4 separate regions of the Homo sapiens genome follow, and regions 2, 3 and 4 are each linked to region 1. Evidence: promoter capture Hi-C in human tissues and cell types (Jung and others, 2019). All regions are on one chromosome and are shown on one strand. Each heading gives the region's core, a stretch centred on a gene start or on the middle of the fragment in contact. The rest is flanking DNA. Distances are from core to core; before and after follow the strand shown. Region 1 holds the start of OPN1SW (opsin 1, short wave sensitive). Region 2 overlaps GARIN1B (golgi associated RAB2 interactor 1B). Region 3 holds the start of GARIN1B (golgi associated RAB2 interactor 1B). Region 4 overlaps CCDC136 (coiled-coil domain containing 136).

Region 1 (6,676 bases), core at 1,517-4,016:
GGAGAGAACTATTTTGTTTTGCTTCAGGTTTCATTGATTTTTCTCCATTCTTTATTCATTTTTAATTTCAATGTTTTCTGCTCTGCTTTTTAGTATCTGCCCCTATTTATTTTAGATTTGATTCACCCTTTCAGCTTCTCAAGGTGAAAGTTTAAATTTTAAACATTTATTGTCTAGTATAAATACTTAAAGCTATAAATTTTTCTCTAAGTACTGCTTTAGCTGACTCCTTCAATTTCTAATACTTTTTTGTTGTTATTCAGCTGAAATTCTTTCAGTTTTTCCTTATGATTTCTCTTTTGACTCACAGGATATTTAGATGTATATTGCTTATTCATAAGTGTTTGGGGGATTTTCCAGATATCTTTTTGTTATTGATCTATCTGTAAGTTCACTGATCCTTTCTTCTGCTGTCCAATCTGCTGTTCAGCCATCTAGTAAATTCTTCATTTGACATGTTGTAGTTTTCAGTTCTGGAATTTCCATTTGGCTATTTTATTTTTCCCATTCTTCTGCTGAGATCCATTAACTCACGATGATCATTTTTTTCCTTCCAGTTCTTGAATATATTTATATCGCTGTTTGAAGTTTTTCCTGCTGGTGCCAACTTCTTGGGTCATCTCAGGTTCTGTTTCTATTGCTTGCTTTTTCTTTTGGCTATGACTCATATTTTCCTGTGGGTTTTTTTTTTCTTTCACACGCCTTTTAATTTTTCATTGTATATTAGACATTGTAGATAGTGAACTTTAGAAACTGGGTTATCTTCCATTGAGGGGTGTTGATTTTTGTTCTAATAAGCAATTAACTTACTAGTTGATCACCTTGAACCCGCTGAGGCTTGGTTTTATCTTTTGCTAGTATGAGTCAGCTTTGGCTTTGACCTTACTCTCAGAACAAATATTTAGTCCTGGGATATAGATTTTAGCTCTATGGTGTGGCCTTTTGGGAGTTTCAAGTAGAAAGCCCTAAGTGTTTACCCAGACCCTCTGACTTGGGATTCAAATTCAAACTCTTTCTCTGCTACAGTGGGTAACAGTCAAAATCTGCTTAGCTCTTTCAGACCTCCAGTGGTTGTCTTTTACTGGGCTCTTGGAAATTCCTCCATCCACAGTTCAGCAGTCAGCCTATGATTTGAGGGGAGTTTATATGCAGATTTAAAGACTTTGCCTTCTGTGGCTTCTTTCATTCCAGGAAATCCACCTTCAGCTGTTCTGGAGTCCCAAACTGTCCTCTGTCTCCTGTCCTCTGTCCTCTGACTCTTCAAGCCAAAAAAGGCTGGGGCTTTCTGCTCAAGTTCTAGCTATCCTGTGCCATTTATACTCGGGAGTACACTCAGGGAAAAAAAAAAACAACAATGTAGATGGTTCTTTTCATTGAAGAGTTGAGTTCCTTTCAGTTTCTGCCTGCTTTGGATACTTTAGGTGTTTTCAAAAAGTTGTTTTTCATATTGTGTCCAGTTTACAATTTTTTTGCCTAAGGGGGCATTCATCTAATAAACTATTCTGCCATTACTGGACCATCCTTTCACTTTTAAACTTACTTATACCTAAAGTGTGTCACTTTTAACTCATCTATATATATAGTCTCGCTCTGTCCCACAGGCTGGAGTGCAGTGGCGTGATCTCGGCTCACTGCAGGCTCCGCCTCCCGGGTTCACGCCATTCTCCTGCCTCAGCCTCCCAAGTAGCTGGGACTACAGGCGCCCACCACCACACCCAGCTAATTTTTTGTATTTTTAGTAGAGACGGGGTTTCACCGTTAGCCAGGATGGTCTCGATCTCCTGACCTTGTGATCCACCCATCTCAGCCTCCCAAAGTGCTGGGATTACAGGCTTGAGCCACCACGCCCGGCCAACTCATCTATATATTTATGATCTGCTGAGGTGGAAAAGATTCATTCATAAAGCCTAAAGTGTAGTACTGAGTACAAGTGCAGGTGGAACTTAAAGCAGAGTTGGTGTCACTGGGGTGGGCTGCACAGAAGAGGTGTTTGTGAGGTAGGCTGTGAGGGCTAGATAAGACTTCAATGAACAGACAGGAGGAAGACTGTGGCGACTTGTTGAGCTAAGGGTAGGGGTAGGCATGAACATGGCGTAAGGACAGTGAACAGACCCACCTCCCTGGCTGGAGGTCTGAGTAGGAAAGGCACACTCTTTGAGTAGATTCAACACAAAGAAATGGAGGCAGCCTGGCTCAGGGATGCCCTAGACCTCTAGGCATTGTCAAGTTGCCTAAGTCCTGTTCCATCAAGGCTGTTTACTGATGTGCTTCCAGGGCACTCCCCACTCCCAGCCCTTTCCTGCAGCCCAGGGCTGGTTCCTAGCCTCTCAGCAGACTTAAGATGGGCACCTTCCACAAAGGGGCAGATGAGTTGAGGAAAACTTAACTGATACAGTTGTGCCAGAAGCCAAAATAAGAGGCGTGCCCTTTCTATAGCCCCATTAAAAGAACAAAAAAGTGGAAGCATCTTCAGTGAATATGGGTCAGCACCTCCCAGACCTCAGGGAGTCCACTTCTGTTCATCCCAGCACCCAGCATTGCATATCCAGATTATTTGAGCCCAATCTCTTATCCTCTGAAGAACACAATCGGCTTTGGGGCCACAAAAGGTTTAGGTAGTGGTTTAGGGATTTCTAATCCCAAACTTTGTCCTTGGGAGGTTTAGGATTAGTATTGATCATTCACAGAGCCCAAGTGTTTTTAGAGGAGGGGTTTTGTGGGGTGGGAGGATCACCTATAAGAGGACTCAGAGGGGGGTGTGGGGCATCCATGAGAAAAATGTCGGAGGAAGAGTTTTATCTGTTCAAAAATATCTCTTCAGTGGGGCCGTGGGATGGGCCTCAGTACCACATTGCCCCTGTCTGGGCCTTCTACCTCCAGGCAGCTTTCATGGGCACTGTCTTCCTTATAGGGTTCCCACTCAATGCCATGGTGCTGGTGGCCACACTGCGCTACAAAAAGTTGCGGCAGCCCCTCAACTACATTCTGGTCAACGTGTCCTTCGGAGGCTTCCTCCTCTGCATCTTCTCTGTCTTCCCTGTCTTCGTCGCCAGCTGTAACGGATACTTCGTCTTCGGTCGCCATGTTTGTGCTTTGGAGGGCTTCCTGGGCACTGTAGCAGGTACTGCAGGGGAAAAAGGGGTTAGGGGAAGGCAAAGGTTGCTACTCCACTGGAGGGGGTTCCTAAAGAGGAGTCTGGGGGAAATGAGTCTGGTGCTTTTTAAAATACTGGGGTACAAAGCAACCCAGACTAGAAGTTTGGCTAAAATAGGATGTTTGAGTCTTCACTCCAAATGTCAGTCCAGCCCTGTCTCTCTGTGCTTGCTCCACCCGATCTGTTTGCCACTCTGCCAGCCAGGCTGGGTGGGGCTCTGTCTAGCCCATTATCCTCACATTTCACCACAGGTCTGGTTACAGGATGGTCACTGGCCTTCCTGGCCTTTGAGCGCTACATTGTCATCTGTAAGCCCTTCGGCAACTTCCGCTTCAGCTCCAAGCATGCACTGACGGTGGTCCTGGCTACCTGGACCATTGGTATTGGCGTCTCCATCCCACCCTTCTTTGGCTGGAGCCGGTGAGAGTGCAGGGCAGTGGTGCTGAGTTAACTAGGAGCTCAGGTTGATGTGGGTGGAAAGAGAGCTTGGGTATAACTATTTAGTCTTTGACCTCTACTTTTAAAGAGTTGCAATATGAGGCGAAAGGGCAGTGGGAGACAAGTGCTAACGTTTACTCTGCAGTTGGAATTGCTGTAGCTTCTCCCAGTCAGGACAGAAAACCCCCCTGCTTGAAGCCTTAGGGCATTCCGTGGGTTCTAAGTGGAGAACACAATCCAGGCATCTCAGCTCCCACTGCACTCTTGTGGAGAGTCCAGTGAGCAAGTGTTTGGTCCTTTGCAGGTTCATCCCTGAGGGCCTGCAGTGTTCCTGTGGCCCTGACTGGTACACCGTGGGCACCAAATACCGCAGCGAGTCCTATACGTGGTTCCTCTTCATCTTCTGCTTCATTGTGCCTCTCTCCCTCATCTGCTTCTCCTACACTCAGCTGCTGAGGGCCCTGAAAGCTGTGAGTGGCATTTGATAGTCAGGGAAGAAGGGGTTCGGGGCTCCACATGAGAAGGAAGAGTGCTCTGAAACATAAGATGCCTGGAAATGTCCATAGCCAGAGAGGGTATCTAAAAGCAGCAAAGGAAGTAGGAGGAGGGAGAATGATGGAGATCCAAAGGAACTAGGCCAGGAGATGGGACAGAAAAGAGGCAATCAGAGTGGATGCCCCCTCCCCCATCCCACAGAAAAGCATCCAGAGACCGGGCGCAGTGGCTCACGCCTATAATCCCAGCACTTTGGGAGGCCGAAGCAGACGGATCACCTGAGGTCAATAGTTCCAGACCAGCCTGGCCTACATGGCAAAATGCTAAAATGCGAAAATTAGCTGGGCATGGTGGTGTGTGCTTGTAACCCCAGCTACTCAGGAGGCTGAGACAAAAGAATCACTTGAACCCGGGAGGTGGAGGTTCAGTGAGCCGAGACTGCACCACTGCAACTCCAGCCTGGGCAACAGAGCGAGACTCGGTCTCAAAAAGAAAATTAAAAATTAAAAATTAAAAAAAAAAAAAAAAAGCATCCAGAGGGCCAGGAAAAAGAGAGATGTGATGCTTTCCGTGCTCCACCCCAGGTTGCAGCTCAGCAGCAGGAGTCAGCTACGACCCAGAAGGCTGAACGGGAGGTGAGCCGCATGGTGGTTGTGATGGTAGGATCCTTCTGTGTCTGCTACGTGCCCTACGCGGCCTTCGCCATGTACATGGTCAACAACCGTAACCATGGGCTGGACTTACGGCTTGTCACCATTCCTTCATTCTTCTCCAAGAGTGCTTGCATCTACAATCCCATCATCTACTGCTTCATGAATAAGCAGGTAAAGCTCTTTATTCACATTCCTATGGTCCAGAAGACCCTGGTTCTTTTCTCACCATTGACTTTTAACTCAGAGCACCCTGGACTCTACCCAGGTTTCTAGTAGACGAGGGAAGCCACAAAACCCCCGAGTAGGTTGGGAAGCCTTTGGTAAGCACAGGGAGGAAGGCACGGTTATCAAGACGAGAAAATAGAACCCCGGAGGAAAGAACTTGAGTCAGGAAAATGAAGTTGCTCCAAAGAACAGGATGAATGAAAGCATTTTATTGAAAAACTCGTGCAGCAAACCACCATGGCACACGTTTACCTATGTAACAAACCTGCACATCCTGCACATGTATCCTGGAACTTAAATAAAATTAAAAAAATAAAAATAAAAACTCAGATTCCTCTCAATTTTCAGTCCTTGCATTTAATAATTTCTTAATCATTTCCCTTCCAACTTTTAGCCTGCACGAGCATGTGTGAAGCACAGAAATCATACCACATGCAAAAATCTCTAAAATATCTTATCATCTGAAGGTACTGGGGGATTTCCTATCCCATCTGAAATCCGAGCTAATAAACACCAAACCCTAAGTGGCAAAAACCCTACTTTCAGATGGTATTGTTTCCTCAATCCCAGAGGTAGACTCAAAACTAATTTGAAACCTCCCTGGATAGAAGAGAATTGGCAGTCCTTTCCAGCTGGGAGCACCTGCTAGTAATGGAGGGGCCTCTGCTGACAGTGCTTTTATGAAGCAGGATGGTTTGTGAATTTACCAACAGTGAGGTCTCAGACTTGACCAGTTTAGGATTACCGTAGACCCAGGAGTAGTTCTAGACTGGAATCTAGATAGTTTTCAGGATGGGGAAGATAGATTCAAAACCACCTAAGGGCATTCTGGGTACAAAGCATTGTGCAAGGCTTTGGTGATACAGAGAATAAGGTCTTTTTTCCCATACTTCCTCATCTGCCAAGGTTATCTCCAATTGTACCTTTCTCTCCAGTTCCAAGCTTGCATCATGAAGATGGTGTGTGGGAAGGCCATGACAGATGAATCCGACACATGCAGCTCCCAGAAAACAGAAGTTTCTACTGTCTCGTCTACCCAAGTTGGCCCCAACTGAGGACCCAATATTGGCCTGTTTGCAACAGCTAGAATTAAATTTTACTTTTAAGTAAGTTTCTATTGTCTCCGTCAGAAACCAAACTACTAAAAACACAAAAAAGATGGTAAAAGGAGTGATGGCAGTTTGGGGAGTCAATTTTTCATTTTCTTACTATTGCCTTCTTGCCTACAAAGCTACTGTTTCCACTGGTCTATTTCAGACCACCCAAAGGCCATTTCAACAATCATCAGTTTCTACTCCTAAGTGGCACCATTCACAGCACTTGGAGAACTGATTTCTACATACAAGGCAACCAAAAAGGAATATGCTTTAAGTTTTCAGTGTATGGATACTTTCCTTTTTAGTAACTTTTTTTTTTTTTCCTGCTGGGGATCCATTCTGAGATGATATATGCTGAATTAGAACAAACTTAAGAAAACACTTTAGAAATGGGAGAGACATAAAGAAAAAACAAAACAAAACAAAAAAAAAAACAAAAAAAACTCAGTGGCCCCAAATATGAGTTTGAAAGAACTTTTGGATAACTGCTACAGCTTTGGCAGGAACAGCCATGTCCACAAGCCCCTGAGCAAGCACAAATTATTCCAGGTGCTTCCTCCCCGTTGCATTTGGCTAAACCTTTATATTTGTCTTAAACTGTGTGTTTACTAAAG
Region 2 (5,692 bases), core at 159-2,658, 41 kb after region 1:
AGACCCTGATATGGTTTGGATCTGTGTTGTAAACCCTAGTATTGGAGGAGGGGCCTGGTGGGAGGTGAATGGATCATGGGGCGGAGTTCTCATGAATGGTTTAGCACCATCCCCGCTTGGTACTGTATAGTGAGTGATTTCTAATGAGATCTGTTCATTTAAAGTCTGTGGCACCTCCCCCGCCCCTTCCTCCTGCTCCAGCCATGCAAGACGTATCTGCTTCCCCATTGCCTTCCGCCATAATTTCCCTGAGGCCTCCCAAGAAGCAGAAGCCACTGTGCTTCCTGTACAGCTGCAGAACTCTGAGCCAATTAAATCTCTTTTCTTTGTAAATTACCCAGTCTCAGGTATTTCTTTATAGCAATACAAGAATGGACTAATACAGACCCTCTCTGTCTGCTTACATAAGGAGAAAAATAAGGCAGGAAAGGAGAACAGTGAGTGTTGGGACTATCAGGAGTGGCGTTGCCATCTCAGAAAAGGTGGCCAGGGAAGCTCATGAGAGGGTGACACGTGAGTGAACATCTGAAGGTGGTGAACATTCCAGGAAAAGGGAACACCAAGGCAAGGCCCTGAGTTGGGAGTATGTTTGAAGTGTTTGAGGAGCAACTGGAAGCCAGTGGGACTGCAGTACAGTAGCAAGGAGAGTAGAGGACATGAGGTCAGAGAGGGAGCAACAGGAATGAGGGAGGGAGAGAGGGACACCATGTAGGGCCTTTAGGCTATTGCAAGGACTTTAGCTTTCGCTATGATGAGTGAGAGGATATGAAGACTGACTATTTGCTAAATTGTTTCTTCTTCTTTCTGTGAACCCAGCTAGACTACATTTCCCAGCCTCCCTTCCAGTATGGTCATATGACTGAGCTCTGACTGAAGGAAGGAGGGTGGAGATGTTGTACACTACTTCCAGTACTGGCCATACAGACCTGCCATGTGTAATTCTCCAAGCTCATTCTCTTTCTGTGGCTAGAAGCTGTGTATTGCAGATGGCAGAGCCACAAGATGGAAGAAGCCCAGGTTCCTGTGAAACTGCCACTCAGTTTTTGAACCAGGAACACCATTTTTGGACTCTTTGTGAATGAGAAGTAGAACTTCTATTAGCTATTTTATGCCATTGATATATTAGGATTTATCTCTTTCAGAGCTAGCATTGCCTTAACTAATACAGAAGGGAAACCATTGGAAGGTTTTGAGCAGAGAAGAAACATGATCTAAGATTTTTAAAGGATCACATTAGACTGAAAGGGAGTAAGGTTAGGAACGGAGTGCATTTAGGAGGTGTTTGCAACAATCCAGGTGAGTGATGATGATGGTTTGGTCCAGGTTGGTAGCAGTGGAAGTAGTGAGAATATCAAATTCTGAATATATTTTGAAAGTAGTTTGAAAGGATTTCCTAATGGGTTGGAAATAGGGTGGAGAGAAAGAGAGGAGTTAAGGATGACTCCAGGGTTTTGAGCAAGTAGAAAAATGAGGCTTCTGCTTATTAGGATGGAGAAGACTTTAGAGAGAACAAAGTTTTGAGGGATAATTTTTTTTTTTTTCTGAGACAGAGTCTCGCTCTGTCGCCCAGGCTGTAGTACAGTGGTGTGATCTCAGCTCACTGCAACCTCTGCCTCCTGGGTTCTAGTGATTCTCCTGGCTCAGCCTCCCGAGTAGCTGGGATTACAGGCATGCACCACCACACCCAGCTAATTTGAGGGATAATATTGAGAGATTTGTTTTGGGCATGTTGAGATACATATTAGACATTCAAGTAGAGATATCGACTAGGCAGTTGGATATGTATCTCGAGTACATGGTGGTCTGGACTAAATATATAAATTTACGAGTATATTTGTGGCATGAAATCTGTGTGTTTTGATTACAAGAGACTTAAGGACTGAATCCTGGGAATTTCTGATGTTCAGATATGATTGGGGGGTGTTGATGAGAATGAATCAGCAAAGGAACTGAGAAAAAGGTCAATGAGGGAGAAGGAAAGCCAGGAGAGTGTCCTGGAAGCCAAGTGAAGAAAAGGTTCAGGGAGAAAGCATGCTGCTGACAGTGAGGTGGGGCCCAGTTGGCCATGGGCTTTAGCAGTGTGGGAATCTTTGACAGGTTTGTCAAGGTAGTGAATGCAAAAACCTGGTTGAAGGACTTCAAGAGACAATGGAGATTTTTAAAAGTTGGTTCCCTTTCATGGAGTTTTCTGTAAAGGGGTGGAGAAAACTGGAGCAAGGAGGCAGAGGGGCCAAGAGAGGTTTTGTTTTATTTTGTTCTGTTTTTATTGTAAGAAATAAGTATGTTTAGGAGGCATGCCAGTATGTTCGTTGCTGATGGGAAGGATCTGGAAGTAGAGATCAAACTGATGACGTAGGAAAAAGGAAAAGTTGCTGGTGTGACATATTTGGGTGAGATGGAATGGGATCTACTACAAAAGGGGAAGAGCTGGACTCTGCTTGGAGAGACAGTTCCTCCATAGTAACAAAGAGAGAAGCTAGAGTCAATGGGTCTGGATCTAGGTAATTGGTAGATATGGTGGTGAGAGCCTGAAATTCTCTTTCAATTCTGACTATGTTCTCAGTGAAATAGGAAGCAGGGTCATCAGGAGGAGGCATTGGCAGTTAGAGGAGAGAGGTGTGAAATAGCCATTCAGCAGAGTGAACAGATTTAGGAGAACACATGATGATTTCCAGGCAACATCAAGGACCCCCTTGAGGCCATGATGATGACTTTGCAGGGAGACTGGTTAGTATGTCATGTGATCTTCTCCAGAGAGGTTCAGTGGCAAGTTCAGCAGCATCACACAGGCATGGAGCTGGTAGAGAACTGAATTTAGCCAAGGGAAGAAAGTGAGAGAGTCACAAAGATGTTGAGAATGCATGCCAGGAAGTGATAATAATAATGACTGATCACAGATAATCTAGGTTACAGGGGAAGGAAATGAGAACATGAAGAGAGCGAGGAACAGTGAAAACCTGGTAGAAGCAATAGATTGTAGGATTGGTGGGTCAATGGATTATTGGACTCAGGAAAAAATAGGAGGTGTTATAGCTAGGGAGTGGAAATAATGGGGTTAGGTGCAGTTATTAATGACAAACACTAGGGTAAAATCAAGGGAGACAGTGGTCGAGGAGGGTGGAAAAAGCATTGCTGGAAGGCAGGAGTTCAGGGAACAGAGATCAAAGTATGGGAAGGATCATCCATGTGGATGCTGAAATCACTAAGAATTAGGACATAACTCAGCCTTTGAGTAATGGTGATCCAGGAGCTTATTTTTTAGCCTTCTAACAATTTCAGGCTGAAAACTAGTTAAGTGAGGAAAAAGATGCTGCTAGGATATCTTAAGTCAAATCAAAATACCCTCCCCAGCTGGGGGATGGACAGCTTTCCTGAAATACTCATAGTCTGTTTCTCATTAAATGTGAAATTTTTCTTTTTTTGAGACAGGATCTCACTCTGTCACCCAGGCTGAAGTGCAGTGGCACACTCATTGCTCACTGCAGCCTCGACCTCCTGGGCTCAAGCAATCCTCCCATCTCAGCCTGCCTGGTAGCTGGGACTACAGGCACACACCACCACTCCTGGCTAATTTTTTTGTATTTTTGGCAGAGATGGGTTTTCGCCATGTTTCGCAGGCTGGTCTCAAACTTCTGGGCTCAAGTGGTTCACCTGCCTCAGCCTCCCAAAGCGTTGGGATTACAGGCACGAGCTACTGCTCCTGACACTATTGCACATTTTAAACAAAGAGGCCAGTCCATAGACCATCTGACAAACACTCCTTCATGACTCCCTTCATCTATAATTGGTAAACCTCTGATTAACCTGTATGTTGAGCCTATATCTCCTATCTCTGGAATCTCTAATTTAAAAAGCACTAACAAGGTATGTCGACATTTCAAGGGAGTGTTATACAAAAAAGAAGTTGAGCCAGTGTTTGCGGCACGGAGATAATAGCAAACTTAGGGAATTTGAACACAAAAGAGAAATTCGCCCTACCTTACACACCTTGTCTTACTACCTCCTATAAGAACCTTTCTGCAGCTCAAACCCAAACCTCTATTAGGAACAACAGGGCTAGCAAGTCCAAGTTAGGGAACAGGCCAACAAAGAAGGAATGAAGCTTTAATCAGAAGACAGGAACTAGCAAGAAAAACAGATAGAAAGGGAAATGGAAGGTGTCTGGCAGTTCACATTTGTCCAGAATGGTCTGAGCAGGGAAGAAAACATTTCTTTTTTTTGTTTATGGCTTTACTTTCAAGTTTTAAATTAGATAAATAGAAGCTTGGTGAGCATCTCTCAGGGGTGTGTCCCTTCTCTTGTCCTCCTTATCTCGTCTACCAAGTCTCTTCCGTTTCCTATTACCACTTCTCTTTGTGTCTCTCATCTGCTGACTTTCTCCCACCACCTTTCTCATCACCTCCATTTTGCTTCCTTCCACTTCTCTGGTCCTACTTCCCTTTCACTCCTTTCCTTCATCTCTTGGGCCCGGCCATTCTGAGAGCACATCTTGCTAGGCCAGCTCTGGCAGTGGCATGGAGGTGGCATATGCCGAGGTGCAGTGGCGAGGACGTGGTTATGTACAGCTGGAAAGGCTCTGCTGTCACCGTGAGATGACTCTATTCTTCCTTGGTTGCAGTTTTCTCCTACTCTCCATCCCGATAATCCCTCAGCAGCTGAATGCTGCAAAGTGGTGTTGACGAGGCTTGCATAGATTCTCCCCAGTGCGGAAGGGTGGCTCAAATAGAATTTCCTGTGAGTGTAGGAGAGAAAAGTGTTTGATAGGATATAAATTACCTAAAAAGCTCTTTTGTGGGCACACAGATACTTATGCTAATTTAAAAAAATTGTCAACTATCTATAATAGGTATCTTATAAGGGTTGGTGGTGGCCGGGCCCAGTGGCTCACACCTGTAATCCTAGCACTTTGTGGGAGGCCAAGGTGGGCAGATCACCTGAGGTTGAGAGTTCTGAGGTCGAGAGTTCGAGACAAGACTGGCCAACATGGTGAAACCCTGTGTCTACTAAAAATACAAAAATTAGCTGGGCGTGGTGGTGCATGTCTGTAATTCCAGCTACTCAGGAGGCTGAGGCAGGAGGATCACTTGAACCTGGGAGGCGGAGGTTGCAGTGAGCCAAGATCATGCCACTGCACTCCAGCCTGGGTGATAGAGTGAGACTCCGTCTCAAAAAAAAAAGAGTTGGTGGTTTATTCATGACATTTTACTTTAGAAAACAGAAATCACCCCTCCCTTTTAGGGAAATCTATCTCTGGTCAAACAGAGGCACATAGGAAGTACTTCACAAATGTTTGTTAAATGAATGTGTGGATGGACGAATGGGCCTTGAGCATGAAGACAGAAGGACTGGGACCTTAGGGAGGTCTGACCCCACCCCAGCCCCCTTAACCTACTTCCTTTTCACTCTCTGCATCCCAACCCAAGCAGTAAGAAGGCCCTTCAAGAGCTCCAGGAAAGGAAAAGAGAGGAAAGACCACATGGGGAGTCTGCAGAGGAGATCCCTTACACCTCCCATACAGCAAGAGAAAGCAGCTATAGCGTCAACAGCATCTGGGGGAACTCTGGGGGCCCTGGAGGTGCCACACATCATGGTTTTGCTCAGCCCAGTTGGGAAAAGAGGGCTGAGGTCTCTGTGGCCAGCATTCCTCGACCACACCCCACAACTTTCTGGAATCACCCTCAGGACCCCAGGA
Region 3 (5,878 bases), core at 355-2,854, 59 kb after region 1:
GTTCAAGGATCTGGCTTTGGATCTAATATTAGTCAGCTGGGACTGGGTGGTACTTGCTAGAGGTACACCAAGAACATCATGGAGAGGTGTGTCACTGAGGTAGCATGGAGAAATGAAGGGTTTTCTTGGACTTTTGGGAATTTCTAGAGATTCTTGAGATATCCTACAGATTATTTAAAGAGGCCCCAAAATTTAAAAAGGCTACTTCGTCCCAGACAAGCATGATGTCACTATATGCTACAGCTCTAAGTGAGACTTAGTCCCATTTATTTTACTGATTAAAAAAAAAAAACAAAAAAAACCTGGCCGGGCACAGTGGCTCACGCCCGTAATCCCAGCACTTTGGGAGGCTGAGGAGGGTGGGTCACCTGAGGTCAGGAGTTCAAGACCAGCCTGGCCAACATGGTGAAACCCTGTCTCTATTAAAAATACAAAAATTATCCAGGTGTGGTGGCAGGCACCTATAATCCCAGCTACTCGGGAGGCTGAGGCAGGAGAATCACTTAAACCTGTGAGGCAGAGGTTGCAGTGAGCCAAGATCCCACCATTGTACTCCAGCCTGGGCGATAGTCTTTTTTGAGACTCAGTCTCAAAAAAAAAAAAAAAGAAAGAAAGAAAAAGAAAAAGACAAAGAAAACTGAGGAGCAGCAAATAACTTGTGATTTTAAAAATTGAGTCCAGTTAGTTGTACACCAAGAACTAGAAATAATCTCCTTTCCCCAACCAGTGCTCCATCTGCCAGACTCACTGCCTCCTTGCCCTTGGGCCCAATGCTGAGAGATTTCCTATGAATTCAGTGGCGTCTGTGCAGCGAGAAAGAAAGTGGGCAGGTAGACTAGCCCCTGACTCCTGTCCACATGACATCTCCCTTTGTCCCACTTGGCCTCTGTCCTTCCAGTGCAACACCTGTCTTAGGATACTCTGTTGTCTAAAAAAATCAATGTCACTGCTGATGACATCTCTATCTTCTCCTTGAGTTTAGTAGTCAAGCAACCTCCACTTTGCATCCACCCCTCACCCCTCTTGTCCTCCATTCTCATCTGCATTGCTCACCTCTTCAGGAAGATGTTGGGGGCTATGGATGGTCTGTTCCATGTCTGGTTCTGCCCCTGGTGCCATTTGACACTGGCCATGAGTAGGATGTTGGGGAGGGGCAGGCAGGGTACCGAGGAGGTCACCCCCAGGGCCATGGTGTTGGAAGCTTTGTAGACGTCTCTCCAATTCCTGCCCCTTTTGACCTGCAACACAGCCCCCAGGCACAACCTGAGCATTTGGCAAAAGCTGCAGTCTGTTTCAGCCCAGGGTTTCTCAACCTCGACACTATTAATGTTTTGGGTTGGATATTCTTTGTTGAGGGTAGGATACTGCCCTGCACACTAAAGAATGCTTAGTAGCATCCTTGACCTCTACCTACTAGTTCTAGTAGCACTACCAGCCAAATCGTGACAATAAAAAATGTCTCCAGACATCGTCAAATGTTCCCTGGCAGTTGGGGCCAAAAATCAATTCTTGTTGATAGCCACTATATTGATTAAACAACTACTAGTATTTAAACAATATTTCAACCACCCATTTGTTAACAATTGCCCACAGGAATTACAACCCAGGAGTTCCCTGCCATCTGTCATTTCTGCCAATCCTCCCTGGACTGTTTCCTGGCCTTCTTTGAAAAATGTATCCTCTTGGTCCTTCCCCGAGGTGCCCTATTATCTCCTGCACCTTCACTGAACAGGAAGGTCCTCTCTAACTCCAAAGTGCTGTTCATTCTCGCTTCCATCCAACCAGAGGAGAGCCCAGGCAAGGAGACGAACGTGCACCGAGTGCCTGTTAGACAAGGTACTTTTCTTGCTGTATTTGCATTTCATCCTCAGGTCAGTTCAACCCTTTTACAATCAAGGGGCCAGATTCAGGCTGCACAGGTTACTTGCACAGTCACCTCCCAAGGAGAAGGCAGAGGACTGGAATCTGAGCCCAGCTGTCTCTGGGACCCCAGGTGCTGTTCTTTCGCCAATCCGCATTATTGTTCTCAAGAAGCGTCTCTTTTTACTGCCTCTTTGTTCATCTACTTCAGGTGACAGCCTGGGGGCTGAAGTAAACTGGGGGATTAGATACCAAATTCTCCACTCAGAGCAGAGGACCCCTGACCTTTCTCCCTGGGTGACAGCTGTCTGTAGGAGAAGCCCCGTCTGGGGCTCAGCAAAGCCCAGGTCAGTGAGGGTGGCCTTGCATTCCAGGTCCACTAGCTTCTCCTTGCCTCAATTCTCACTCTGCCCCAGTTTCAGGGATGGACTCTCTCAGTCATATCTTGGGAACAGGTTTCGAAGAATCAAAGAGTGCTATTCTGCGCCACCCAAGAATACCTGGATGAAGTTGCTTTCAAACACCACGGAGTCAAGAAACAGGTTGAATTCTGGAGAATGAACCACCCGGCAGAGCAGTCCCTCCTCCACACCTAGGCCCGCTCCAGGGTTCGGCTCTCCATCCACAGGCAAGAGGCCCCTGAATTCTTCCCAGGCATTCAGGGAAGGGAAGGTTGGATAGGATCTTGTGACTTTTACTGTCTTCTTTGATTTCCTCCAAGTCTTTCTATGTGGAAATGATGACAACATTTCTACACATGCTCAGGGGCCTGCTGCACATTTGTCCTGGGATCTCTGTCTCCCCTCCTGGCCTTGGGCAGCTGGCCAAGCCCTGGGACCACCAGTCAGCTCACAATGATGAATGGATGACATCATGAAAAACCAGGACAGACCTGCAGGAAGGGGAAGTGCAAAGGAGCCTCCCTTTTCCTCCAGAGAGCTTGTGTGCCTTATCCGTGCCTGGACATTCCCCAGCCCTTTTCGGAACCCCAGGACATAGTCCTCCCGGAACTTGCTGAGAAAGCAGTGAGCCAGGCAGAAAGCAAGCAAGGAGGGCTGTCAGGAAGATCCTTCCACTGCTAAGAGGAAAATGCCCTTCCTGCCTTTCAACCCTTCCTTACTCTGAATGCAACCTATCTCACACAACTTTAAAAGCTGCATGTCCATTGAAAACCCCATCTTCCTAAGCTTTGCAGCATGTGGGCCCCCGACACCCTGGTGGATCTGCAGGTTATGGAAGCAGTTGCAGGGCAGTTGGTGCCTGCTCTGCATTCTGCCGCGGCAGGCTGGTTACTTCTGCAGGACTTACTTCCCTTAGGAGGTCAAACTGAAGAAGCAGGAGAAGTAATTAGTTTCTTATCCAGAGGCTGGCTTTGTCAGGGCGCTGGCTGGGAGGAATAGAACCCCGATGAGCAGCTCTGCTAGGTCCCAAGCTGTTCCCCCTCTTGGAGAGTGACAGCATCCCTCACCCCTGAACCAGAGGAGGAAAGAGCCCAAATCATGGGCTGCTAGGTCAGGAAGAAAGAACCAAGCAGGCTGACCACTATTCAAGGCCATTCCTGGGAGAAACTGTTTTCTAATTTGGACCAAATTCTAAATTTTTTTTTTTTTTGAGATGGAGTCTCGCTCTTGTTGCTCAGGCTGGAGTACAATGTGCGCGATCTCGGCTCACCACAACCTCTGCCTCCCGAGTTCAAGCGATTCTCCTGCCTCAGCCTCCCGAGTAGCTGGGATTACAGGCATGTGCCATCACGCCTGGCTAATTTTTTGTATTTTTAGTAGAGACAGGGTTTCTCCATGTTGGTCAGGCTGGTCTCGAACTCCTGACCTCAGATGATCCGCCCACCTCGACCTCCCAAAGTGCTGGGATTACAGGCATGAGCCACTGTGTCTGTCCCAAATTCTGAACTTATTACATAATGAATTAACCATCAAGGTCAAATGTAACACATATAGACAGAGTTTGACAATCATTACACACAAAGGACAAGCATGGAGGCTGACTTTTGTATTTCATTATAAAGTCAGGGAGAAGCCTAAAGGGCCTGGAGGCTCTCACCATCCAATTCCATCAGTCCTTCCCTCTGGTCATTCAGATCACACCCCTGCTCCAGCACCTGTTATAGCTCCTGGCTCAGTAAACCAACTTCCAACCTCACTTTTCTCATTATCTTTTGTTTACCAGGTAGGAAAAGTGTCTTCATGGTCACATTCTCTAAGGATTAGATCAGAGACCACATCCTTTGGTTTGCATTTCCCTGGAAATAACCTAGAAAGGGAACACACAGCACAAAAGCGTAGTAATTAATAAATTGATACGTTGCTGTTCACAGTTAAAGCTTAACCACAACAATAAAGCTCATTGGTTTAGATATACAATTTGAGTATACTTGGCCACTGAGACATCCAAGAGTCAGTTGGGGAGATGACTTCTTCTCTTTTCCATACAAGTCTGTTAAGCCCACTTCTATGGTGTTCAACCCTCAGAGGAAGAAGGCTTGGGTGCCCAGTCTAGAAAGCTGATTGTGAGCAAAGGATTTTTTAGCTCTAAACAAGATGCTAAGCAGTTTTGTAAATGGTGCTTTAAGGTGGCTCACATCTGTAATTCTAGTGCTTTGGGAAGCCTAGGCTCCTGGGAGGATCACTCTAGGACAGGAGTTCAAGGCTACAGTGAGCTGTGATCTTGCCACTGCACTCAAGCCTGCACGAGAGAATGAGATCCTGTCTCTATTAAACAAAAAAATGATGTGCACCCCTTCCTACTTCCCCTGCAAACCTCAAAAACAAGCATATTGAATCTTTTTAGAAACCATGTGACAGATACTTAGTTGTCTATTAGTTGTCTGTCCCAACACCCATTCTGTTTCTTTCTTTTTTTTCTTTTTGAAATAAGGTCTCACTCTGTGGCCCAGGCTGGAGTGCAGTGGCACAGTCTTGGCTCACTGCAACCTCCATGTCCCGAGTTCAAGCAATTCTCCTGCCTCAGCCTCCCGAGTAACTGGGATTACAAACGTGCAGCACCATGCCTGGCTAATTTTTGTATTTTTAGTAGAGATGGGGTTTCACCATCTCTACTAAAGGCTGGTCTCGAACTCCTGGCCCTAAGTAATCCAACCGCCTTGACCTCCCAAAGTGCTGGATTACAGGCCTGAGCCACCATGCCCGGCCCATTCTGATTTTTTAGTAATAGAATACTTGATCATTAGTTGGGCACAGGTCTCCTGTAAGAAAGATTACATTTCCTGGCCTCCCTTGCAGCTAGGTAAGACCATGTGACTACCTTCTGGAAAAGGAGATGTAAAATTATTTACCAATAACTTTAAGCAGTGAAGAAAATAGGGTTAATTTACAGGAAATTAGGACTGTAGAAATTACAAACTTGTAGCTTCTGGGGAAAGTTATATAGATGTAGGTTCCAATAACTTGAGAAAACATTGCTTTTTCCTCCTTGTGTATTCAGTAATATTGATGCTGCCACAATCACTACTGTTTGCACTTTTAGTGATGAAAACTTTGGTGACAGCCTCAACCATGCTGACTGTCCTTTGGTTTGAGGCTAAAGCCACTTTGGCAGTGCAAGGTATCATTTCGTAGCTTGCACAGGAATTACCAGGACATCTGGTTGTCAGTTGGGGCTGGACCCAGGTTTTGTGAAGCCAAGAGTTTATACAATTTTGGAAACTCTTAAAAATAAAAAGACTGGATGGAGGGGGTCATAGGGAGTTATTGTTTAATGGGTGCAGAGTTTCAGTTAGGGAAGATGAAAAAGTTCTGGAGATGGATGGTGGTGATGGTTGCAAAACAGTGAGAATGTACTTCATGCCACTGAACTGCATACCTAAAATGGTTAAAATGGTACATTTTATGTTGTGTGTATTTTACCACAGTGAAAATATGCTAGAACTTAACAAATAAAATTAAAACCCCTACAAAAGTATGATACAAAATTGCTAGAGGTCCTCCTAGGGCCTCATAAGGCCCATATGAATTAGAGGCCCTGAAGCTTTAAGTTTTATTAT
Region 4 (6,398 bases), core at 2,056-4,555, 43 kb before region 1:
TGTAGATAGGTGTGGGCACAGAACCTTAGGGGAGGTCTCCCCAGCCCTCAGTCACTCCATTTCTCCATGCTCAGGAGAGCACCTCAGGATGGGGTTAATAAGCACAGACTAACCCCTCTGTGAGTCAGTCGACAGCACAAGGGGCTAGCCTCATTTCTGAGGCCATCTGCAAGGTGAGAAGCCGCATTTAGGAGTCAGACCCTTATGTGAGGTACTTGGTTAAAGGGGGACTGCTCTGTTCTGGTTGTGTTGTGAGGCATTTAGCAAATAAAAATCCACAGTCTCATGTAATTCAGTTGATATTTAATTACAAGGAACTCAGGTTCTTACACAAGGCAGGAGATGGAAGTCAGCCGCTCCCCACAAGCCTTTTCAGCCTGGGTGACTGAGGCTGAGGAGATGGGGACACATGGAACATATGGGGAGGGTTCTGGCACAGTGTGTCCTGCCCAAAGCTGAGGGTGGTGGCCACTGGGGATCTGCCCTCGCGCTGGCCAAGGTCTGCCATCACTCCATGAGGCAGAACTCTGACTCCTGCTGTCGCATGTTGGGTAACACATACAGAGCCACAGCTGCAATAGCCAAGAATACCATAGGCTTCCACAACCCAAACATGTTCTGTGGGGACCAAAGAGAAACTGTGAGTGCCCAGCCTCCTGAACCCTGCCCTAAGCCAGAAGTCACCTGCCTATGGGTGCCCAAGACACCTCAGGAACATTGTGGATCAGTCTCTGTTACCTCCTGGGTAACCGGTGGAGGTAAGTGATCTCTCAGTCCTGGCACCACTAGACATGTGGCCCAACACTGTACGCACCACCTTAGGTGACCGCCTGTATTCAGGCCTCCGTTTCTCCCCATGGGCTGAGAATACTAGCTCCCATGTGAAGAAGCAGGCTCAGGGGCCAGACTTCCAAGTGGTTGCAATGAGAAAGGACTGGATGCCATGGCAAGAAAGAGGAGGGGAAATCTGGGGCTTTGAGAAAAGCAGCAGCACCTCATTAGTTTCACTGCAGTGAAGTGAACTCAGAGTCAAGAGGATGGGGAAGGGGGAATAAGGCTGAGGGGAAATGAAGAAAGTGCACCACGGAGTGCAGGTAAGTAGGAGGTTCTTAGGCAGACAAACTTTGACAGAGAATGACATTGGTTCAAGGAAATTTAAGGAAACCTGTCACTGGGCCTAGGTCATTAGAACACTCCTAATCACCAGGTATGTTGACTGACTTCCTGGTGCATGTGCTAGAGTATGCTGAGGCTTCCAGACACTGCCGGCCACTAGGGAACCCTGCTGATTCATGGGACAAGTGGCACCATCGAAGATATCCAAAAAGCATCCATTAGGTAATATGAAAATCTTAGACAAGAAAATACATACTTGGGGAAATAGGTTTTATTTTTATTACTTTTTTACTCTACTAACTGAAAGGTAGAATTTGGATTTTGAGTCATAAGCTATGGCATAGGTAACAGAAGGATGGTTTCAAGTAAAAATGGAATATAGCCCATTAATGCTAAGAACACATTTTCTCAGATGATAATTGATCTAAAAAGAGGACTTTAAGCCTGCTAAAGAGCAAAGAAAATCTCCTGAGCTTATAGAAATAGCTACTAAGAACAACAGAAGGTATGAAATGGAAAGCCAAGCAATGTTACAGGTGGATATACAGAGTAACTCATGTAAGAAAACCAAGAGATCCGGAGGCTGAGGGAGGAGGATCGCTTGAGACCGGGAGTTCAAAGTTACAGTGAGCCATGATCATGCCGCTGCACTCTAGCCTCGGTGACAGAGCGAGACCCTGTCTCTAAAACCAAAAACAAAAACTAAGAAGGGAGCTAGCTAGAAAAAAATATTTATATGCTCAGATGCCTCTATCCTAATGTGCATTGCTAAGAATGTTAGTCTGGTGTTCTTAAAGGAGGGAGGAGCTGAAATCCTTAAATGTGACCCGTGCACCTCACACTGGGCAAAGGCAAGCTTCTACATGGGATGGGGAAAGGGCTGGTGTGGGTGTCCCAAAGGGGAAGTCGTGTCAAACTCTCCTTTTAAACTAGGTGACCTAAGTGACAAATCACCGGAATCATGTTTTTGGACGTTGAGTTGTTTGACAGAATTTTCTATGATCTTTGCAGATAATATGCAGAAATAAGGGTAGGATGACAGTACAGTTTGTTGAATGGCAGGTAAGTGACCAATGAGCTGAATAAAAGAACCCCAAGAGACGACACTCTAGAGGCTCTGTCCTCACTCTGTCCTCTGTAGATGAAGACAGGGAAGGAGGGCTTGCCACCCCTGTAGATGATGTGAAGGTGGCAGAGGAAGTGAATATTTTAAAACCACAGGGTCAAGATTAAAAACACATACACACAAAACCTTATAAGGTAAGAACAATGAACTATAATAGGGAAGAATGGAAAATTCTGCCTTTGAAGCCTCAAAATCAAATGCAGGTACAGAATGGGGAGAGGACGCTTAGCATACACAATCTGCAGAGGGGCTTATAAAAAATACATGAAATAAATAAATAATATATTAGTTACCTAAAGAGCTAATGTGATCTGAGGTTGCCTAAACACAAGTATGGTGTCTTCCTACTTGGGACCAATGAAGAGAAACTGCTCAAAATGAGGAGAGACAATAAAGGGAAGCAAGACTGGAATCTTATTTGTTGCTAATATTGAGTCCTTATAATCTGACTCGCAGCTTCCTGGCTGTTTTACTTAACTTCTCTATGCCTTAGTTTAATCATATATAAAAAAAAATAGGAGTAGCTTCTTCATGGGGTTGTTGCAAGGATTAAATCAGTTAATATACGTAAGTGATTAGAACAGTGCCTGACACATAAGACTGCATTTTGTAAGTGCGTGCTCTTTTTATTAATGATGGGGTATTTTATAATTTATAGAATACTTTCATCTACTTCAACCCATCTGGTCCTGACAAAAACCTGTGAGGAGGGCAGAGGTTCGATCATCCTTTGCTTACATTTGAAGAAACTAGAGCTCAGAGTGTGCATTTTGCTCCCTGGGACAACGCCTGTCAGTAGAGACAGACTCAACCAAGTTCTTCTGACCGCCTGGCAGCCACGCTTTCTACCACACTGTGCTCCCTCAGGTCCTGGCTGCACAGGTGCATGTTGGGGCCTCCTGGAGCTCTGGGGATAACAGGCCCCACCAGGAGAACCCTTCACCAGCAGTTCTTCCTCTCCCTCTGATTGGGCCGGGCTGGGTCTGAGGTAGTGGAAGGCTGTGGCTGAACTCTTTGGGTTTCACCCGTAGTGCCTTAAGACTTCTGGGGGGTGACAGGGGAGAAACAGTCATAGAGAGGGGCCCCGTCACTAAAGCAGTTGTGGACCAGGGAGTAAAGGGAATACCTAAAGTCAAGAAGAAAAGTGGAGGCTTGAAGATGAGTAACAGGAAAGCTGGGGAGGGAGCAGGAGGAAGGACAGAAAAGGAAATGGAGAGAAGTGCCACCAACAAATCCTCCAGTTGCCACCCTGTGCATTAAGCTACATTCCGTTCACAGGAATGTGAGAAGAGAGGGGAGTGGAGGGGGAGGCAGGGAAAGCATGAGAGAGGAGCCAATGCAGGACTAGAGAGAATACCTTATGGGTTCCAGAAGGCAGGTGGAACCCCAGGCTTCTACCTTAGGCCGTAAGACCACATTCTGCCTCCTGAATTTGGTATCCTGTTGACAGTGTACATTACATGTGTGGGAGCTGACAGGAAAGTGGCCAGAATATATCAGTCTTGATTTCCTGAGAACACACATCTCTGGCTAGTAGAAACTTTTCACTAATACCTCATTCTCTCCAGAAAACCTAGCTGGGGAAGCCAATTACCATGGAATCTGGCCCACAAAATAGATAAATAGATAACTAATAAAATTTCCCGGCATTCTGTTCTGACTTTTCCGGAGACTGGAAGTCCAGAAGCAGAGAACTGTTCAGTAGAAAGAGCAGAATACAGTAGGGGTTCGGTTCCATTTCACCAAGCTTGATGGACCAGCTTAGGTTGCCCTCCTACCAATGCCCCTGGGAGGATCATGAGGATCAGAGCTCTTCAGAGCTCCTCTCTCTCCCAACAGAAGAGGGATTCCTTATTTTGCCATCTTGGGTAGCAACAGTAGTGAGAACTTGGCTCCGGAGTTAAACCAAGACAAAGAGAGTCCAGGCCAGCCTTGCAAATATCAGCTCATCAGAAGTGGTCAGGCTAGCCATCACACAGAGGATGAGCGGGGATAAAGAAGTAGTGAGGCAGCTTTGACAGCAGCAACCAAGCTGGGCTTATCCAAGTTTTTCCCAGCCAAGGATTGAAACAAACCATGTCTCTGGCAAGCATTCCAACCTCCTATGCATTACGAAGACATGCTCAGAGATGTCAGAGGCTTTGCAGTAGCCCAAGGAAAAGTCAGAACTAAAACTCAGACCTGAGCATCACCTATTATAAAATGGCACAAGCAAGAAGCAAGCAGCTGGGAGAAAAGGGAAAGAGGAGAGGCCAGGGCAACCTGCACCCTCCCTCTATCCCTCAGAAGGAGAGGAAGCAATACCAGTACCTGCATTAGGACGACGTCTCAGCCCACCAGCACCAGAGCAAAGCCGAGATGACCACCAGGCCTACAAGAGGCAAGGAGAAGATGGGGGGATTGGGGGTAGGGGATGACTGCAACACACCAAAATGAGAAAGAAGCACGAGGAGAGACCAGGAGATGTGAGACATAAACGCATGGATCCAACAGATAATGAAGATGAGAAAACAAAGGGAAAAGAGAAAGGAATCAAGAGGTTAAAAAACAGGTAAGCTAGAGCAGTTGCATGTCTTTTCTGCTGCCTGGGCCTTGGTTCTTTCCACCGGCAGTCTGCAGGAATTGCAAAATTGAATGGGTTAAGCAGCAGCTAGGTCCAAGTCAGGCGGTGAGTCCAGTTTTCTTTCTGTCTCGTCACATACCTCTCATATCCTGTCAAGCAGGAGGTATCTGCATCTAGACCTTTCTTGTGACTTTTCCTAGGTCACTCTAGGAAGAGCCAGTCTTCTACCAGGTCACCTGTCCCTTTGTTCTAGCCTGCTTTCCATTAAGTTTCTTAGTATTTTGGGCTCTGGTCCCTTAGATCCCCTAGGAATCTAATGATATCATTGTAAGACAACATGCACCGAAACAAACTGACAATGGAGAAGGGCTAGTTCTTTCACTGCAACAATCTTCCAGAGAGAAACCGATTTTGCAAGGTGGTAATACACATGCCCTAGAGCTGCCTGCAAAAGACGCAGGACCCACGGGGCAAAGGGATCTCTCCATATATAGAAACATAGAATATATTTGAAGTAGAAAAATCAGGTCTAGCTTTAGAAATGTGGCACCGAAGGTAAAGACATCTGTGAGGCTCTGAACCAGCACGTGGTGGAATATGATGAGCTCAAGGAAACATGATAGTGGGAGGGGCTGCAGTGGTTCCGACTTTCCACATCTTAGGTAATGGTCCCCTGGCACAAGGTAAGCAGAGCACTGCACACTGGATCCTTAGCCAGTGCTGAAGACCAAATTGCTGGAAATTCCAGATATCCTCAGAGTTGACTGGATAATCCCACCACAAGAGGCTTTTTTTCTTTACCTCTGTTTAGAACAGAAAGAACCTGTAATGTAAGCTGAGGACTTACACAGGAAATACTCTAACTCTGTAGGGACTCTGAGCCCTGAGTTAAGTCCAGGGCAAGAATTCAGTTGCTACATACCTGCAGAGACGTACCAGTTATTAAAATATGGAAGTACTTCTATATTGTTGGTAAGTTACCTCTGGCATTCTGGCATATATATCCCAGGATACCTCCACCCCAACCTCTCAATGATCTAGCAACTGAAGGGTTAAGGCTAGGGATGGTCTCCTTGGACTAGTCTATGCTCCTACTGTACAGATGTGAAATATTTTCACTATCACTCTTGATCACTTCCAGGCCCCACCTTCATGTCCTGTGATATACAGAATCCAGGGGGCAACATGAGCCTACAAAGAAGAGATTATCCCCTGACACACCCCTAACAGCAACAACAAAGGTTAAACCTAACAGGGCACCATAGGAAAACTGGACTGAGTGACTTGCCCAGACCGACAGAAATGGCCTGAAGTAGACTTCACACTGTCAATGTCCTTCCTGCAGTGCCAAAAGAGGGATGAGGGAACACTCCCGACATAAGGAAGGTAACAAAGGCTACTACGTAAATGAAAGGACTCCAGAGACCCCACGCTGGTTCCCAGAAAAGGTGGTCATTGTGAGGTGGTTCCACAGCAAACGGGGCTGAGCCCATGATTTCGTGCAGACAGACTGCTCTCATCTCCCACTTCTGCATCTCCACCTCCCCGAAGGGTTGTGCCTTAGAGCGCGAGGCCTCCACTCCTGGAGATATC

Evidence for each region. Contacts are between HindIII fragments. The study calls those that stand out against the background at their distance.
Region 2: a fragment that was not itself captured here is called in contact with the fragment with the promoter of OPN1SW in region 1 in 1 of the 25 tissues and cell types used here (mesendoderm cells).
Region 3: a fragment that was not itself captured here is called in contact with the fragment with the promoter of OPN1SW in region 1 in 2 of the 25 tissues and cell types used here (IMR-90 fibroblasts and mesenchymal stem cells).
Region 4: a fragment that was not itself captured here is called in contact with the fragment with the promoter of OPN1SW in region 1 in 3 of the 25 tissues and cell types used here (bladder, mesenchymal stem cells and thymus).

Annotation. Positions count from the first base shown.
Region 1 is chr7:128,771,884-128,778,559 of GRCh38, reverse strand. It overlaps OPN1SW (opsin 1, short wave sensitive), which reads left to right and starts at 2,766. Exons shown (of 5, transcript NM_001385125.1): 1 at 2,766-3,121; 2 at 3,406-3,574; 3 at 3,897-4,062; 4 at 4,672-4,911; 5 at 5,901-6,075. The coding sequence starts at 2,779. The coding sequence ends at 6,020. CALU (calumenin) reads right to left here. Exons shown (of 7, transcript NM_001219.5): 7 at 5,160-6,676. RefSeq lists cis regulatory regions at 2,300-2,769, 1,670-2,769, 1-2,769, 1-2,769, 1,778-2,772 and 1 more. The HindIII fragment of the contact is 13,114 bases long and covers 1-6,676 here.
Region 2 is chr7:128,730,140-128,735,831 of GRCh38, reverse strand. It overlaps GARIN1B (golgi associated RAB2 interactor 1B), which reads right to left. Exons shown (of 7, transcript NM_001282788.3): 7 at 4,089-4,732. The coding sequence ends at 4,719. Among named protein-coding and RNA genes, the nearest start is that of CALU, 6.4 kb to the left of the region's middle. The HindIII fragment of the contact is 5,550 bases long and covers 1-4,183 here.
Region 3 is chr7:128,712,173-128,718,050 of GRCh38, reverse strand. It overlaps GARIN1B (golgi associated RAB2 interactor 1B), which reads right to left and starts at 2,660. Exons shown (of 7, transcript NM_001282788.3): 1 at 2,361-2,660; 2 at 1,054-1,238. The coding sequence starts at 2,609. The HindIII fragment of the contact is 6,852 bases long and covers 1-5,030 here.
Region 4 is chr7:128,816,019-128,822,416 of GRCh38, reverse strand. It overlaps CCDC136 (coiled-coil domain containing 136), which reads right to left. Exons shown (of 18, transcript NM_022742.5): 17 at 4,553-4,659; 18 at 287-618. The coding sequence ends at 4,558. Among named protein-coding and RNA genes, the nearest start is that of FLNC, 11 kb to the left of the region's middle. The HindIII fragment of the contact is 4,770 bases long and covers 921-5,690 here.